2 separate regions of the Homo sapiens genome follow, and region 1 is linked to region 2. The links are contacts of gene promoters, found by promoter capture Hi-C in blood cells and fetal thymus (Javierre and others, 2016). All regions are on one chromosome and are shown on one strand. The core of a region is centred on a gene start or on the middle of the fragment in contact, and the rest is flanking DNA. Distances in the headings are between cores, read along the strand shown. Region 1 overlaps NEGR1 (neuronal growth regulator 1). Region 2 holds the start of NEGR1 (neuronal growth regulator 1).

What was found. Contacts are between HindIII fragments. The CHiCAGO score rates a contact against its expected background, and 5 or more counts as called.
Region 1: a contact is called between a fragment that was not itself captured here and the fragment with the promoter of NEGR1 in region 2, in 1 of 17 cell types (fetal thymus). The highest score is 6.0, in fetal thymus.

What each region holds. Positions count from the first base shown.
Region 1 is chr1:71,582,631-71,588,645 of GRCh38, reverse strand. All of the region lies in intron 6 of NEGR1 (neuronal growth regulator 1), which reads left to right. Among named protein-coding and RNA genes, the nearest start is that of NEGR1-IT1, 250 kb to the left of the region's middle. The HindIII fragment of the contact is 2,586 bases long and covers 3,108-5,693 here.
Region 2 is chr1:72,278,103-72,284,188 of GRCh38, reverse strand. It overlaps NEGR1 (neuronal growth regulator 1), which reads left to right and starts at 1,650. Exons shown (of 7, transcript NM_173808.3): 1 at 1,650-1,870. The coding sequence starts at 1,695. It overlaps LOC105378797 (a long non-coding RNA gene), which reads right to left and starts at 1,255. Exons shown (of 6, transcript XR_947506.3): 1 at 784-1,255. RefSeq lists silencers at 1,214-1,303, 1,404-1,463. The HindIII fragment of the contact is 3,164 bases long and covers 22-3,185 here.

The sequences.
Region 1 (6,015 bases), core at 3,151-5,650, 700 kb after region 2:
ACCTATAATTTTAAGTAGAGGTTTTAGTAATTTCATCAATAGAATTACTTTAAATTACTTAAGGTAAAAATGTATGTTTTCTAAAATAAAGAGAAAGCAAACTTTATGGTGGAAAAACTACAGGAAAGCTAGTATACAATGAAGATCCCTCATCCTCTAGATTCTCTGTCCAAAAATTCCTGAAAGATTTCTATGTTGTAAAAAGTACAAAATTGGAAGGGAAGAGAAGGAAAGGCAGAGAGAATATTGTGCAGATCACTGTATATTAGCCCTCAGGAATGAAGTGCTTTAACAAAATTTATAATGGATGACAGTATGCCAACTATTCATAGCAAAATTCTTATTAAATAAAAAATTGGGGATTCAAAGATATTTGTTATTTTATTGTTATTTTTCAGTGCGTTTTTTGCTTCCTGAACATGAGCAACTAAAAAAATGTTTCTTCCAAGTCTGTTTTTTAAAGACTATGAACTGAGTGGTCCCATCCTGCCATCTATGGGTTCAATTCATCAAATGTATGCTATCACTTTAGTGGGAATTCAGTAATCAGTAAAACATAGTTATTTCTATAAGTAAAACATGTTGTACACGCTTTGTTTCTCACTTCCACAAAAGTACAAATATTTATTATAAGACACGTATTCAAAGACTTGCCATCTAAAGGGAAATAGAATTAATTAAGATGGAAGAAAGCTGCATAAGCAAAGTGCTTAGAATTTACACAGCCTTAGTTTAATACAACCCTCTCCTGAGACCTAATATATGGAAATATTTGGTACAAATTGAGTCTCACTATTGATGAAGACTCATTGCTTAGAGTCCCAAAATAGGTAATGATAATATTGCTATGATGTGTGGATGCTAAACTCCCATCTCAGGTGTACCTAAAAATATAGTGTCAAATCCTTTACTGTAGTATAGGTTCTACAAGTCCTAATGATGCTATAGGGATATCTGTGTGTGTGTGTGTGTGTGTGTGTGCATGTGTGTGTGTGTGTGTACTCGTGTATGCATTTATTCAAAGTAACAAAGCATTTGTCTCAGAAATATTACACATAACACATTCAAAGGACCGATCAAAACTGTCTTTTCCCTGCCTTAGCAGCCTTGTGGAGACAATAATGAAGTCCCAATTTTAAATGCTTTATGCAGTCAGGGCTTTTTAACTTTCTGGAATGTCTCCTTTCATATCAGAGAAAATTTCTTCCCAGCCTGTTTAATGTGATGGGCTTCTTTTCTTTTCAGATAAAAAAGAAGTCAGTAGCTAGTATCCAAAAGGAAATGGAAGAGTCTACTGGAGAAAGTAAGAGAGAGTAATGTAACTGTTTTTCCCTGGTTAGATTCAACCGATGCAAGCGAACAGTACCTTTCAACTGATTTGTTGAATATGAAACTAGCTGTGTCCTTGCAAGTAATATTTCAGCTCTCTGCTTGCTTCAGATGTTCCCACATGCCAGTAAGCAACTGTATGGGCTCTGTTACTTTTACCTATTATAATGAACCCTGAAAGGTGATACCACAGATGTGAATGACTCCCATTTTAGATAGAAATTTATCTCTCCTCTTGCAACTTAAAGGAGATGGGGTTTTCATTTTGGTTGAAAGAGGCAGTAATAAATTTAGACTTGGTGATTATTGAAGACAGAGTGCTGTGTGAGACAACCTGCTTTATCCTCGCAGCTTTGAGATGTTAATGAGAAGGCTTTCCTTGGTGCTCTGGTAATAAATATTTGACAAAAATTAGGTTTGCAGTTGTAGGCAGAATTTGATCCAGCTACACAGGCCTATCAAGTCGTTCTCTACCAAACAAAAATAACACACACAGACATAATCATCACATAAGTCATGAAAGTATACAAATTTGCTGAAGTGTAGTATGAGTAAAGCAAGAGAATATTTTACCTCTTCAATCTCATACCTGGAACATGTATGTATTTTCAAGAAGATAGACACCAAATGGTCATTTAGTGGCATATGGGAGAGACGATAACCAGCAGGCTGAAGCAGTCAGAGTGACTGTTGAAGTTTATGGTGCTCCAGGTCACCAAATTGCCTCTAGTGAAAACCACATATCAGTTAGCGGAGCTTTAGTTACGTTTGTCAATTGACAGAAATTGGAGCTAGAAGATGTCTCAGATTTTACATAGTCAATTCTTCCAACTTTCTTAAGCAATGAAACCCTTTATTCCTCCAAATAAAACCTATGCAAACTCTTAATGTATAACAAAGATAAAACTGGAGTTAGTTTGGTTAAGTTGGAGACAAATCTTATTTTCCTACCCATCACATTACATAGCGGCCTTGAAGCCTCTCAAGGTGTCATACAGTTCCAAATAATTTGTTTTGAAAACTTCTTGTCTAAACCAGTTTTTTCACTTTATAGGTGAGGAAACTGAAACCCAAATAGGATGAGTCAGAGACCAAAGTCAAGCAACATAACTAGGGCTAGAATTTCGTTTTTACTACCCTTGTTCCAGTGCTTTTCCCACTACACAGGTGGAACACCAAAAGCTTTGAATCGAGCAGATCCAAGTTAAAACTATAATCCTTCATGAAGGATTGTAGATACTTTAGTCACCTGACCTATAAAATAGGGGAAAATAAATTATTTTTATAGGATTATTGTGAAGATTAAATGAGAGGACATGCAAAATGGCCAATACACTACTAGTCTAAAACAAGTGCCTATTAAATGCTGGTTTCCTCTTCTGTCCTTCTCATGTATAATTCAAATGTTGAAGGGTAAACACAGGCAAGCACAGATCTATATAACCTGAATAACTGTGTAACTTTATTTCACTGGATAGACAAATTAGCAGCACTGGTCCTTTGATTCATTTGTTAATGCACTATGTATATCATTATGATATTGTCCTTTTTATTACAATTATTAATTAAATCAGCCATGCACATAAGCATTCACTTGTAATGAGTAAAAAAAAAAAAAAAAAAAAAAAGATGGAGAGGTTGTACAAGATTAATTACTCTACTGATGTGTTTCTCCCAGATTGAGGCAATTTGACAGTGGCATCTTCAAGCTACTGGTACAGCACATACATTTCCCACAGCTGACAAAGGGTCAGTAAATTTGGAAGGGAAAGGAAGCTTTGGTATTTGGTGTTGTCATTGATCAGCCTTGAAATATGGCTTGCTTATGAGGATTAGGTACCAAAAACACATAGAAAAATAAATTAGAGTTTCCAATTTAATCACAAAATTTTACTAGAAGCCCTACCCTTGGAGTCAAACTGGCCTTAAATTGGAGAGCTCCATAGCAATTTACTGCCTGGCCTCAGCATACCAATTTATAATATGAGGGGACTAGACTAACTAGTCTCCATGTTACCTTTCAGCTGTAATGTTTTCAGATCCTAAGAAATCTATGCATGTTTAAAAGATAGTATGTATTGATTGATTGTTATTTTTTAAAGTTAAACTTACTCCTTAACAAAGTAGAAGTGCTGCCAATATTTTTACCTTCTGTATATTTTTGTTATTGAACTCAAAATTATTTTTATTCGACAAAAAAATGCATCTTAATGTGCTTGTCTCTGTAGTGAGTTTCCATAAAACTTAGCTCAAGAGCACTGCTGGCCTAATCATTTTGTCATCTCTACACAGAATTTTACTCTCCAGAGAAATTTCCTTTATGTTCACAGTTGCAACAACCTTGGCCAGTAACCTATGAAAAAGGCACTAGAATAGACATTCTTGCTTGCTATTTTATTTCACACAGCTCTAATCCTATAACTAATTAGGCCAAAATGTGACTTGAGTATATGGCGTTGTGACTATTAGGACTTTGTAAAAATGAAAACATGCCAACATTTCCAGTCAAAAGAAAACAGATTAACAGAGTCTTTCTTCAGTATGACTTTCCTGATCTTTTCTCTTACAAAGCCTTTTGGAGGTCCTGTGAGATATTTCTTTCCCAGCACTTCTGAGAAGTTTCTTGGAGCATACTTATCAAGCGTGCACTGTGTTCCCTGTAATTTTGACTCCATCTAAAGTGGGATCCAATGGTTTGAGCACGTAATAAGGTGGCAAAGTCTGGGCCACTGTATCATCTTCGCTTCTGTGCTGTGATTTCTTTCTCTGAAAATGGAAATGTGACCCCTAATAAAAGATCCAGGAATACGTGTGAACAAAATGATTATTATGAAGGTCTGAGTATCATTATGATTAAACTTCCTATTTCTCTTTAGTCAGAGTGAAACATAGTTACTAGGGTACTCCACTAAACGAAAAAGTAAATTGAAATTGGCTCTTTTTTTGGCCATTCTGATGTTCCAGATAAAGGTAAAAAGAGGAGGAATTAACTGTGAAAGCAATAATATTTCAGTGGGCCACTCTTTCTCTAAAGCACTCTAAATTCAGTTTTAGAATCCATAAAACTGCTAGGGAAAAGACTGAAAATGGCATGTCCTCATTGAATGTGTCTATTCAGTGTGGACAGGGTTTCCTTTCTTTATAAATGTAATTCAATTGGGATTTCTCTGCAGAGATACAAATTAACTATCCACCCAGTATATAGTTAGACAAGATTTGAATAAACCAAGCCAGACTTGCTTGCATGGAAATGTTATTTCACCTATGCTCTGGCCAGGCATTTATAGTAGGTTGGATTTTCCGAATTTTAGCCTATTTTTAAGCAACACTTCTCTTTCAACAGTTTTAAAGAAATGAAGCAACTTCAGTTTCCTAGCTCTCAAATGTGTTTTTTAGATAGTTGCATAATCTTCGGTTCCTTTCTTTGAGTCAATCCAATTAGTGCATATGTGGAGCTGCTTAATTAGTGAGGCAGATCATAATTCTTGCTGAAGAACCATTAAAGTCACTAATCAGTCCACTTAGAATGAATTCCAAGTTTTCTAAAACACTTCCTAAGACAAGAGTAACAACATATATGTTTTCCTAAAACGGGCAGAATAATAGTATTTGCTCTAAGAATTAGTGACCATAACTATAGGGAAATTTGTATTTTCTCAAAAAAATTATAACTCCTTGGGAGCACTTAGTTTATGATATGCATACAAACTGTAGATAATAACTATAATCAAACTGACTAACATTAACTAAGTAAACACATTTTTTAGGAAGACTTGCATAAGTGATAGATGCACATCAACTCTGCAGGCTTGACTCTGCTGGAAAAGGATAAATTGAAAGGGTTTATTTCTCTCAGGCTAGCATGTGCCTGTTGGAGGCCATATTTGACATCCTTTCTTACACCCATTTTGCTTCATTCTGCAGAACCACCTGTATTTCTCTAACATTCTTCCTGCCAGCAACACCTGAAAGAATGAGCCTCACATGCTAAAATAATCTTAGGCTGCCACATATCACCATCATGATAAATCTTCCATTTATTATTTTCGTTTCCTTGTTACCATCCTCCTTAATTCTTTTCCCTGTCTTATTGTTGTGATAGTCATATATTTTTTAAAGTTTTTTTTACGTTACTGACTCACATTAGTGATAGGCTCTCACCTATTTATTTATTTATTTATTTATTTATTTATTTTTACTTTCTGTATCCCTTCCTCTTATTTTCTTCCTCTTATTTCTCCTCAACTCCAGGACTTAATCATCACCAAAAGAGACAGATAGATGCTTCTCTAACCAGGAGTATAGATTCAGAACGGAACCAAACAGCCTCTGAATAGGGAAGCCCAAAATTGCTTTTGAAAGCTTCATCACTGAAAATGTAATCAAACTTAGCTTACCCAAAATTGATTTAAGTTGCAGCCTAAGGGCCAACCTTTGACCAGGGCAGCGTTCACACTTGCATTGATTCTGCCTGCAATTGAATTACTCAGGCAATTCTGTGCGCTTTCAGCTTTAGCCCTGGAGTGCAAATGGCCAATTTGGGAGGCAACTTGCTTGTGCTTGAAATTTGCAGAAAGATTTTCTCATACATTTCTGGGGAAAAGCAGGATTACTTTTTTAAAATATTATCTTAGTCACAGAATTGGCTGCCCAAAGCATATTTTGTTTCCTTGTTTTCATATTTGT
Region 2 (6,086 bases), core at 401-2,900:
TGCAAATGGCCCGGAAAAGCTTAAGGATCTTGAATCTGGAAATGAGTTCAAGAAGGAAAGAAGAAAAAAGAGTAGGGGTGGCCCCACGCCTAGTATCTCCTTCTGCCTTGGGCCAGGGCAGGGCTGAAAACAGCCCGGCGAGCTGCGGAGGGGCTGCTGCGTGGGGAAGCGGAGGTTACCGCTCTGCACCGCGGAGGAGCAAGCCTGTTAACGCGGTGTGGAGGCTGTTAAGAAATACAACCCTGCGACTCGTTAAACCCCTTAACTCTGCCCTGCCTTGACTCGGATGCGCCGATTATTCGGCCTGATAGGCTCAAATGGGTTAAACTGCCTCTTACATAACTGGACCGCCTGGGCTCTACACAATTAAAACACTTGATTGCAGTCTTTTCCCGACTCTACATCCCAGCATGACCCGCCCCGTCCCTCCCAGCGCGCCTGCGTGCCGCGCGTGCACAGGCCCCCGCGCGCACGACACGCTCTCTATCACACACACACTCCATGTTGACCATAAACAATCCCCTACTCACACACACAACTTAGTGTCAACACCCACAGATAAAAGAGGGGCGTCCTGCAATCCATACGGGCCGACCGCCACAAACACGCAAGCTGCTCTGCCGCAAGGCCTTGCACCTCCTCGTGTCCCCGCAAAAAAGCAGCGCCCCGCCACCGTCCCTACCTATTCCCGAGAAAACGCAGAGAGAACTAGTTGGCTGCTCGCTAACTGCAGCGTAGCCACCCAGGCAAGATTAGAAGAAAATAAACAAAAAAACAACTCACAGTCGCCGGCGTCATGATGGCGCCGACCACAACTTGGAGGACTTCAAACTTACGGTGCCTCGAGAGGTAAAACGCACCGGTGAGGGAAGGCAAAGCGCCCCTCAGCTCTCTTCACCCCAGCCCTGACACGGAGACTTTTCTAGCAAAGAATCCCTCTAGCGCTTACGACAGTAAGGAGAGCCTTCATTCTAAGGTGCCTCTCTTTCCCCCTTAGTTTGCATAATTGTGATACAGTTCCTCCTATTTTTTTTTTCGTTGTCTTGCTTTTCTTTTTTTTTTCTTGCTATCTTTTTTCTTTCTTTTTTTATTATTTTTTTAATCCCCCTCCCTTCTCCATCCCCAGTCCCCTGGCGGGGTTGCTAAGGAAACGGCCGCTTGGCAACGCGCGCGAGCCCGGGAGCCGGCGGCCGGCGCAGCGCTCCGCGCTGCTTCTGCTGCTGCTGTTGCTGTTGCTGCTGCTGCTGCTGGGATTGCAGCCGCCGCCGCCGCCGCTCGCCCTGCCTCCTCCCCCGCCGCCGCGCCTCCTCCCTCACTCGCCGGCGCGCTCGCCTCCTCGCTAGATGGTGTGCGAGCCGCCCGAGAATTAGACACACTCCGGACGCGGCCAAAAGCAACCGAGAGGAGGTGTAGTGTGGTGCCAGGGGGAGGGAGGGGAGGGAGGGAGGGAAAGCGAAGAGGAGGAGGGGAGGCAAAAACACCGAAAAACAAAAAGAGAGAAACAACACCCAACAACTGGGGTGGGGGGAAGAAAGAAAGAAAAGAAACCCACCCACCCACCAAAAAAAAAAAAAAAAAAAAAAAAAAAAAAAAATCCTGTGGCGCGCCGCCTGGTTCCCGGGAAGACTCGCCAGCACCAGGGGGTGGGGGAGTGCGAGCTGAAAGCTGCTGGAGAGTGAGCAGCCCTAGCAGGGATGGACATGATGCTGTTGGTGCAGGGTGCTTGTTGCTCGAACCAGTGGCTGGCGGCGGTGCTCCTCAGCCTGTGCTGCCTGCTACCCTCCTGCCTCCCGGCTGGACAGAGTGTGGACTTCCCCTGGGCGGCCGTGGACAACATGATGGTCAGAAAAGGGGACACGGCGGTGCTTAGGTAGGAAGAACGGCGTGCTTTTCGTACTTGTTTCGGTCTATCTTTCTGTCTCTCTTTGAACCCTCTTTGCCTTCTTTATAACACAAGCAATAATGCTGGTGGTGCTCATCATGGAAAGACCACATCCCAAGAATTCCAGGTGCAGATTCTTCCCGGAGCCCCGGCCCGTTTATGCTGGGGCAGGTAGCAAGCTGGACTCGTGATGCTAAAGCACTTTGCCGGAACGCCAAGTAGCCTGGGGATGAGTGAACTGTCAGGTTTAGAAGGAGGGGCAGGTGCCACTTTGAAACTCAATGCACAAGGTCTCTGTTTTACTGTCATGGGGTACTCCTGGAGAGTCTGACAAGTTTATCAGGTTTGTTTCTATTTTACTCCAGCATAAGCGACTCTTTCAAACTGCTGTTCTCTGCTCCCATTTATTTTCCCTCTCACTTGGACACTTAGGCTCGATTTCTTGCTCTTTATCTTTCTTTCCTTTTACCGCTTTCTGTTTTCTTTCTTTTCTCCTTCCTCATTCTCTTATACCATTTTCCCCACCTCCTTGTAACTCTTTTTCCCTCCAATATCTCTTTTCATACCTTTTCTATTTTCTGTTTTTTCCCTCCTTTTTAAAATTTCTTCTCATATTTTCTCATTTTTATCTCCACGACTCTAATTTCTGTTCCTCACATTTAATCCCCTTTCCTCCTCTCTTTTACCCTTTTTTCTTTTTGTCTATTTTTTTTATTCCTCCTTAATGTCCCTATCCTGTGCCCTGTCTTCCCTCTTTTGACTCCCATTTCTCATCCCTCTCCCCATACCGTTTCCCACCCCTGTGGCACACACAGGCATGGTCACTGTTCCCCTCCAGTACCATTTACTCACCCTCATAAATCTTATTTCCATAAACATACTAACTCACATACTCTCACATCCTCACATGCACTGGCACTTCCATGCTGTAAGAACCACTTCCACATTCAGATTGTCTCTCACTGTTTTTAAAAGGCATACTCTCCTTCTCTGTTCCACATTGTCACTCACACATGTGTACACACTGCCTGTCTCACTCGCTGCTCTCACTCTGTCTCTGCTTCTCTCTTTTTCTCTTTCTGTGTCTTTCTATCCCCTTTTTATTCCTACCTTCCTCCCTCCATCAGTCTTCACTTTTACTTATTTTTCTCATTTTCCCTTCTTTCCTCTGAGCTTGAGCTCTGAGGTGGTTTGTCATTAATAAACATCCATACCCTGATTTTACCCCTAAGCAACACTGCAGAGTGGGAGTCTGGGAATATTTTATTTCCTATGAAAATATAAATGGATGATCAGCAAAGCTTAGATCTAAACAAAGCTAAACGCCCTATTCCTTCATTTCTTTCCCATCACCCTCCCTTCTCCCCCTGCCACCCCACCTCACATTTCCCTGAAAGATCTTCTTTTTCTCCACTGGGTGGTAGTTGGCTTGTAAGTCTGGCTTGCACAACATCAGTGTACATGACATGTCTAAGGTGAAAGAGAGTGGGAAATGTTTCTGTTTGAAACATGCAACATATTTAAATTTAATGATGTGGGTGTGGTATATGACTTACACCTTTTGGAACATGCCTATGAGTTCAAATTTGGAATACTATCGTATTTTTTAATATACACTAATACATATGTTTTTAATAATTTCTGTTTTGAATAACAAATGCCACTATATACAAAAGTAACTAATATCTTTGATATTACACAGTAAAAAAAAACTTTTCATTGTTGGTAACAGTGATAAATTCTTTGTCACAGAGAGGATATAAATTAAGCCTGTATTTTCTCTTTATGTTAAGTTTGTTTTAGAAGTTTGAACAACAGTGGTAAGGGCAAGACACTATCTTCAGAGATTGCAAACACATATCATGGGAGCTGCAATATGTATTTTTGTAGCAAGCAACATATTGCTTATTTGTAGTGAGCATTACCATTTCCACCCTAAAGGGTTTAGGAGACTGCTTTTCTTTCAATAATGTATCCTGGCATTTGGTTTCCCAAACAAACAACAATTTAATAAATACTATGGTTAGTGAAGATAGCTGGACCCACATTCTGCTTCCAGGAGACCCATGTTTAGTTCACTCATTGCTTCCAACAGTGGAGCTTCCCTAATATGTGGGGACCATATATTTCCAGTGTTGTTGGTTTGGTGCAGTCCTTGTTTACTTTGTGTGCTCTGTACCTCATCCATTTTGATGCTATATCCCGCATTTTGTGATACTGAGGGAACTTGACTTTCAAACTTCTTAAAGAGAACAGAGTCTCTGTGTCTTCTCAATAATGTTTCTAACAAATTAGATTTTAGTTTTTAAATTTTTTTATCATATGAAATAGAAATTTGAACTGCATTACTTTTACTCAAAGCAATTTGCTTACAGTAATTCTGAAATTCTCTAAGAATTATCCAGTTGTTGAACTTCTTACATTGTCTGTAGGTTTTAAACTAATTTAACGTATCCATTTATAAGAAATTCTCTCTCCATTAGAAAATGTTAAATATTGTCAGTTATTTTTTTCTTGACTCTTCTCTACAGCTGGTAATTTCCTCTGATCATAGACCATTACAGATAGAGCTTAAGGACTAATTGAGTATAGGCAACTCAGGTGATGCATCGTTTTTTAATCAAGAGTAATGTTACAGTTATATTTTGTTTTTTCTTTGTATACTTAAAACCATATCTGTTGTTATTCTCTAACTCACTAGAAAACAAAACAAAATTCTACCCTTCAAACATATGCCCTTGTCCCATCAAAATACATGAATGAAGTGCTCAAGAGAACACTTAACCAAATTACATATCATTCATCAAGCTTAGCCCAATATATTCTATTTTTAATGTAACATATTCCTCACAGTGTCTTTAATAAAAAACAAATAGTGGCATAACAGTTATCAAATAATTTTAAGTGCTAAAGGCCATAAAGTGCAAACATGCCAGTCAGTGACTCTGTTGCTTGTGGTTACACTAATAAAACAGAAGTTTAAAGGTCAAATGATACATTTCTGTCTCCTAAGTGCCAGAATATCTGTTTTTGAGAAGAGGATCATGAAAAACAAAACTTTCCTTAAGTGGAGTTATAATACCCAAGGGAAATTCATTCTGTTATCTAACTGTATCTATCATTTTGTAAATCATCTTTTCTGTTTAGCTTAAATACAGGATTTATGATGACATTCCACTTAATAATTTTAATATTTTTATCATTTTAACTTTGTCTTTTAGGGTTAGTGAAGCCATATATATGAAGTGTAAAGATGTTTCTTACTTTTAATAATGTTATTCTGTGCTAAATTTCTGAATGATTCACTTGAATTATTTGGACCTTCTTGATAAAGTATTTAATGATACAGATATTCAATATAGTAATGTTTGATATTTCCCTTTCTTAAGCTTTGTATTTAAAAAATATATGATGTCTAAAATACATTGTAATTTGCTATAAACACAAACTGTTGCCATTAACTTATTAAATATAGACTTTAATTGCTACTACATTTAATATATACAGTATTTTATTCTTAACAGAACTTGTTAATCTTGTATGGAGACATTTACTTTTTTTCCATGTTTTGAGTTGCATTTTGTGAACATGGAAGATCTGAGTTAATGTGTCATGGGCTGATCTAGTAGAGAACAGGAAGTGCTAGAACCACATTGGTTATGCTTCAGTACCCAGTGTTTCTAGAACTGGAGAATTCAGGGGAATATAACTCTGCTCTAGAACAATACATAAATTTCAGGAGACTTAAAAAAATCATTTTGCAGTCACTTTAATATGAACCAGTTGCTTTATTCTTACCTTATTAACAAATACTGTTATGTAAACATATCAAAAATGTTTAATACCCCTTGGAAACAATACTACGAACATTCTCATTTACATTCTCCCAGTGCCTGCACATTTTTAAAACACGGTTATTTTTAAGCTAATTTTTTCAATCTGTTTCTTATTCAGCCCTTCTCTATGAAGTTTGTACTTTTTTAGCCGCCTTTCTGATATGAATTCAAAATATGCTATTATCTGCTTGTCATGCTTTAATCGAAGAAAGGAAGAAAGATTCTTTCCTTAATTGTGATATCTTCTTTTACTTTAGCAGAGTTAAACACAACTCTTGTCATTTTAATGCAATAGATTTGAATGGAAGTTATGTGATATCCTACTATGATACTCTAATACGGAAGAAGCCTTTTGCTTAGGGCGTATT